Regions from separate parts of the Homo sapiens genome. Here region 2 is linked to region 1. Evidence: promoter capture Hi-C in 16 types of primary human blood cells and fetal thymus (Javierre and others, 2016). All regions are on one chromosome and are shown on one strand. The core of a region is centred on a gene start or on the middle of the fragment in contact, and the rest is flanking DNA. Distances in the headings are between cores, read along the strand shown.

The links. The method cuts DNA at HindIII sites, captures the fragments that hold promoters and counts their contacts. A CHiCAGO score of 5 or more calls a contact.
Region 2: a fragment that was not itself captured here is called in contact with the fragment with the promoter of MEIG1 in region 1 in 5 of 17 cell types (total CD8 T cells, naive CD4 T cells, naive CD8 T cells and 2 more); the score reaches 7.4 in total CD8 T cells.

What each region holds. Positions count from the first base shown.
Region 1 is chr10:14,958,067-14,960,766 of GRCh38, reverse strand. MEIG1 (meiosis/spermiogenesis associated 1) reads right to left here and starts at 1,379. Exons shown (of 3, transcript NM_001080836.3): 1 at 1,210-1,379. RefSeq lists a silencer at 1,107-1,156. The HindIII fragment of the contact is 3,683 bases long and covers 405-2,700 here.
Region 2 is chr10:14,193,933-14,196,778 of GRCh38, reverse strand. The region is part of intron 2 of FRMD4A (FERM domain containing 4A); the gene reads left to right. Among named protein-coding and RNA genes, the nearest start is that of FRMD4A-AS3, 120 kb to the right of the region's middle. The HindIII fragment of the contact is 9,275 bases long and covers 1-2,846 here.

The DNA.
Region 1 (2,700 bases), core at 130-2,629:
GGGTGAGCCACCACGCCCGGCCTCGGGCACGTTATTTTAAAAACACACCATCTCGGCGCGGTGGCTCACTCCTATAATCCCAGCACTTTGGGAGACCGAGGCGGGTGGATCACGAGGTCAGGAGATCGAGACCATCCTGGCCAACAAAGTGAAACCCCGTCTCTACTAAAAATACAAAAAATTAGCCGGGCATCGTGGCGGGCACCTGTGGTCCCAGCTACTCGGGAGGCTGAGGCAGGAGAATGGCGTGAACCCGGGAGGCGGAGCTTGCAGTGAGCCGAGATCCCGCCACTGCACTCCAGCCTGGGCTACAGAGCGAGACTCCGTCTCAAAAAACTAAAACAAAAATAAAAACAAAAAACACCATCTCAACTCCCTGACAATCTAAAGTTGGAACAGAAGCTTCTGATGTAGCCAGCCACCCAAATTCCCTTTTCACTTCCCTTTCACTCTGAAAAGCGCTTTTACTTTTAGTAGTATTAAAACTTCAAGAGCATTAGCCTCCCTAATAGTCCCTTTTATTCCTCCTATTAGATTATTTCTGTTCTTAAGAGGCAGCAGGAGGAGCCCTGTAACCAGCACGTAACCTTAGGCAAGGCCATGAACACGCCTGCGCCTGTTTCCTAACTTAAAGAGAAGCATTAGCCGGTCTCTAAGGTCCTGGAACTCCCGTCTGCTGTCGCTGGGCGTTCATTTGAAAGACAAAAGCGGTTCCGAAAGCACGCCCGGCGGTCCCTGCTCTGGGAGTGCTGACCTGCCTGTGTGCAGCACAAAACCGCTCCCTTCCGGCCCTCACAGCTAACCTGCAGTCCCCATCCCTCCAGCTTCCTTTCTGCCATAAATCACTAACTGTGTGGGAGATGAAATCCGCCTGGTGAAGGCTGGGACGGACAAAACACAGTATTCCAAAATCTAGGGCCCAAATCGGAGCCCTCGGAGACGCGGCCCCTAAAGCCAATGGGGTCCGGGGCGGCCCGGAAACTTCCGGGAGAACCGGACCCTGAGATTCTGGAAGGGCCAAATAGTGACCCTCTTCCCTAAAAATCACGGAAGAGACATGAAAACCACGGGATCTCCCTGGCAAACCTCAGGAGACAGCAGAGAACTGCGGAGCCGAGAAGGCGGGGCAAGAACTTCCGGGGTGGGGCTACGGCCGGGGCGCAGGGGTTGGCGGGCAGGGCCCTCGCCTCCAGCGACGCATCCACCCACCCCTGGGTCCGGCTCTACTGGGTTATCCTCGTTCCGCCGAGCAGGAGAGGCCGGGGGCGCCCGGGAGCTTGCAGGCGGGCGTGGGTGCTTGCGTTCTCTACTCGGGATCCGCGAGCAGGGCCAGCGAGAGGCCAAGTGTTGTGCCCTTCGCGACCCTCGCGTCTCTTAGTAACGCGATGAAGCTGCAGGAGCTCCCGGCTCCTTCAGGCCCCGCCCAGCTAGCTCAGGCCCCGCCCCCGGGAGTGGGCTTTTATGCGCATGCGCGAGGGCTGGGGTGGGCGCCGGCCCATCTTACTAAGCCAATGTAGGTCCCAGGTAGGAGCGCTGCCAGGGCTCACCCCTGAGCAGAGATGGAGGGCGAAAAAGGGTTACTTGCCGCTACTTGAATCCCAGACAAAATTCCCTGTGAAAGCGGATCACAGCACGGAGACTGTGTTTGTAGTTCCTGATAGTAGATATCTCCTATCTATTCATTTGCGAGGAATGAACCATTCCAGAGAGTCGCCATAGTGCCTGACAATCAGTAAACCTACAATAGATGATATCTATAGCTTTAATTATTTTTTCTAGCATTATCTATTACTATATTACAGTACTATCTAAGCGAAAAGTGATCAGATTCAAGATATACGGTTTTTTGTTTTTTTGTTTTTGTTTTTTTTTAGACGGAGTCTCGCTCCGTCGCCCAGGCTGGAGTGCAGTGGTGCTATCTCGGCTCACTGCAAGCTCCGCCTCCCGGGTTCACGCCATTCTCCTGCCTCAGCCTCCCGAGTAGCTGGGACTACAGGCACCCACCACCACGCCTGGCTAATTTTTTGTATTTTTAGTAGAGACGGGGTTTCACCGTGTTAGCCAGGATGATCTCGATCTCCTGACCTCGTCATCCACCCGCCTCGGCCTCCCAAAGAGCTGGGATTACAGGCGTGAGCCACCGCGCCCGGCCAATTTACATGTTTTGAATGTAGAGCCATCAGGACTTGTCAAATTGTTGAATGAAAGAAAGGAGCAATTGTGTGCTGGAGCCAGCTCATTAGAGCTCTGGAGACTCAGTAATTAAATTTTTAGGAATTTTTCTGAGCTCGTTGTTAAATACAAGCCATGAGCTGGAGTCAATGAAGATGACAAGGGCCTCGGGCACCTGCCCCAAACAAAACAAAAACACAAGACATATCACAAATTAAATTATATAAACTTCTAAATAAACGAGTCATACTAAAACAAAGGCAATACTTAGTAAAACTAAAAACAAAAAACTATTTACTTACAACTCCCAAATTTCTCTCTTCAGCCCGGTCTTTCTCTGAACTTTAGATTTGTATATCAATGTATATTCAACATCCACTTGATTGTACAAAACAACCTCCCCAAACACCTCCCTGCCAAAACAAAAACAAAAACCCTGCTCCTTCTTCATGTCTTTTAGTAGATGTGGCCTAGAGCCCTCTCTTTCCATATCCATCAATGCAACCTGCTGACTTTATAGCTTCTACT
Region 2 (2,846 bases), core at 183-2,682, 760 kb after region 1:
AGTTAACACTGGTAATCCCAATAATAGTTAACATTTATTGAATGATTTCTATGGGCTAGCAATTTACATTAAGAATGGCATTTCTAATCCAACACCAAACAATGTAAAGTACACTTTAGACTCTGTTGTAATAGATTTTTAGACAACCACATAGATGTCAGTGTTTATCCATATCTAGGAATTATGTAGAAAGTATTGTTTTGGTTTGGGCATTATTTTTGCTTAGAAATTATAAAAATATAAAAAGTATTTGTTTTTCTTGTGTAAAATCAAAGCCTTCAGGTTTTCATTTAAATTGAACATTAGCCTTTGATTTGAATAACTTATGCCCTTCAGGTGCCCTAAAGCTGTTGGATAACAGGAACATTTTAATGTTTTACAGCCTGTCTGGAACTCTTGCAGCTTGGGCTACTAGGTCCATGGGTGAAGGTCAGCCTGGCAGAGACTCTGGGATCAGTCCTTGGAGGGTGGGTCAAGTTTGAGTAGCTCAAGGTTGAGTTGAGCAGAATAGCTGGTCTTACCCAGCCTCAGCTCTCAGCCTTCTAGTAATGGGATTCCTGCCATATTTCCATGACTGCTGGTGCAAGGATGTGTGTGTGTGTGTGTGTGTGTGTATGTGTGTGCATGTGAGTATATATGTTTATGTGCACACCTGTGTGTTTATGGTCAAGCTGGAAGGGTTTTAGCATGGGAATCAGAATTTGTTTTTGCAGTCTCTGTCCATTTTAATTGACTTGCCTTATCTGGAAAAGCCTTTGTTCATGTCCTGCCTCCACTGATCTTTCTCAAAATCTCATGCAGAGACATAATAGCTGCTCTGTAAACATACTGAACAAAACTTTTCAGAGTGTCGTGAAGTCGTAAGGAACTACCAGGCTTAGATTCGTAGTTTGTATGTGTTCAATGTAAGTGAAGAACTGTGACAGGACATACAACAGGCACCTTCTCTATAACCTTTCCTGAGCTGTTTGCACGCAGGATGCCACAGTACACTGGATCCAAGGAGTTGCTACTATTAATTTTATCCTGGGCTCTGCCCTCAGAAAAGGAGCTGGTTTCATTTTGGTCTCTGAAGTCATGAATATTACCACCTTCCTGCTGGGAATCATGTAAGAAACTGATTAGCCCCAGCTTGATTCCCCCTGCAACGGGGGACGCCTGGAGAGCTCACTGCACGAAGAGTCAGACTTGATGTTCAAAACTGAGCAAGTTTATTTGTTATCCGAGGAGAGAATGGAATAAGTATGGGAACCTTAGGGAAATAATTTGTACAGGTAGTTTTCAGTCTCTAACTGCAGCCCGAGTTCCCTCTGCTATTTTCTGATGGCAACTGATTTTTTTTTTTTTTAATGAAAGAAAACACAGGGGAGACAATTTACTTTTGTCAGAAAGATATACTATCTCAGGCAGATGTGATTCCCTCCTAGGTATGGTTTTATTCTTTTTAAATTCCACCGAATTCCTAAAACAGATTCTGGAGCTTCGGTTTCTGGTTCTTGCCCCATTTCTAACTTACTGGATTATAACAGGTAATATCCTTAAACATGCTGAGCCTGTTTCCACTCAAGCAAAAATAAGAATTAGGACATCTAGCCTACATAAAAGGGAATGCCAAGGGAATCTGGTGGATTATTTTTGATGTTTGGGAGAAAGAAATAGCATCTACTACTACTACCAATTCTTATTGTTCTGTGTGAGCCTACCCTGAGAATAAGAATTGCTATTTCACTTTTAAGGAATGAAAGAAAAATGTAAGGAAACAGAGATGATGATTTAATACTTTGACCAATCTGAAATGAAATAGGGGCACTTCTCTTAAGACCTGGATATAGTTCATGATTTCAAGCTAACAGTATCTGAAAAATCAGCTAAGCTATTTTTCAAAGGGCATTTGGAAGAGAATAATATAATGTTATTAACAGATTAATAATGATTTTACATAAATGAATGTGATATAATATGATAATAATATAGATTAATAATACTATAAATAGAATAATATTTCTTAGAACCAAAAGAAGATTTTACGTGCTTTAAGGAGATAAAAGAGAGAGAACCATAAAATAAGAGATTCCAGAAAGTTTATCCTCTTGACATCTCAGAAATGAACATTTCCTGAAGCAGGAAGTAGGAATGCTCCTTGGTTTTTTGTTGTTGTTGTTGTTGTTGAGACAGAGTCTCGCTGTGTCGCCCAGGCGAGAGTGCAGTGGTGCGATCTCGGCTCACTGCAAGCTCCGCCTCCCGGGTTCCCGCCATTCTCCTGCCTCAGCCTCCCGAGTAGCTGGGACTATAGGTGCCTGCCACCACGCCCGGCTAATTTTTTGTATTTTTTAGTAGAGACGGGGTTTCACCGTGTTAGCCAGGATGGTCTCGATCTCCTGACTTCGTGATCCGCCCGCCTCGGCCTCTCAAAGTGCTGGGATTACAGGCCTGAACCACTGCACCCGGCCTCCTCCGTGTTTTTTAATACCCTTTCCCCACAATGCCAGCATAGTGCTGTGAGAAGTAGTAGGGCTGACGAGTGAATGAAGGAACGCAGAGATGGATGAGTCAAGGAAGGAATAAGTGAATGTTCTCACATCGCTAGAGGGCTTTGTTATTTGCTTTTACTTTTGTGGTTATAGAAGCTGATTGTAGGGAATTTGCAAAATGAAGATAAGTATAAAAATGAGAATTAAAATCACAGAGGAAACCCCCTGGGGTCTTCATTTGCAGGTTTGTGCTTTTGCCAACATGTATAGCTAGTTATGTAAATTTAATGCATGGAAATTCTGTGTCTTAAAGTCTGATCTTCATGGAATTAAAAAAGAAAGGGAATTTCCATAGTTTGTATGTATCAACTTTGA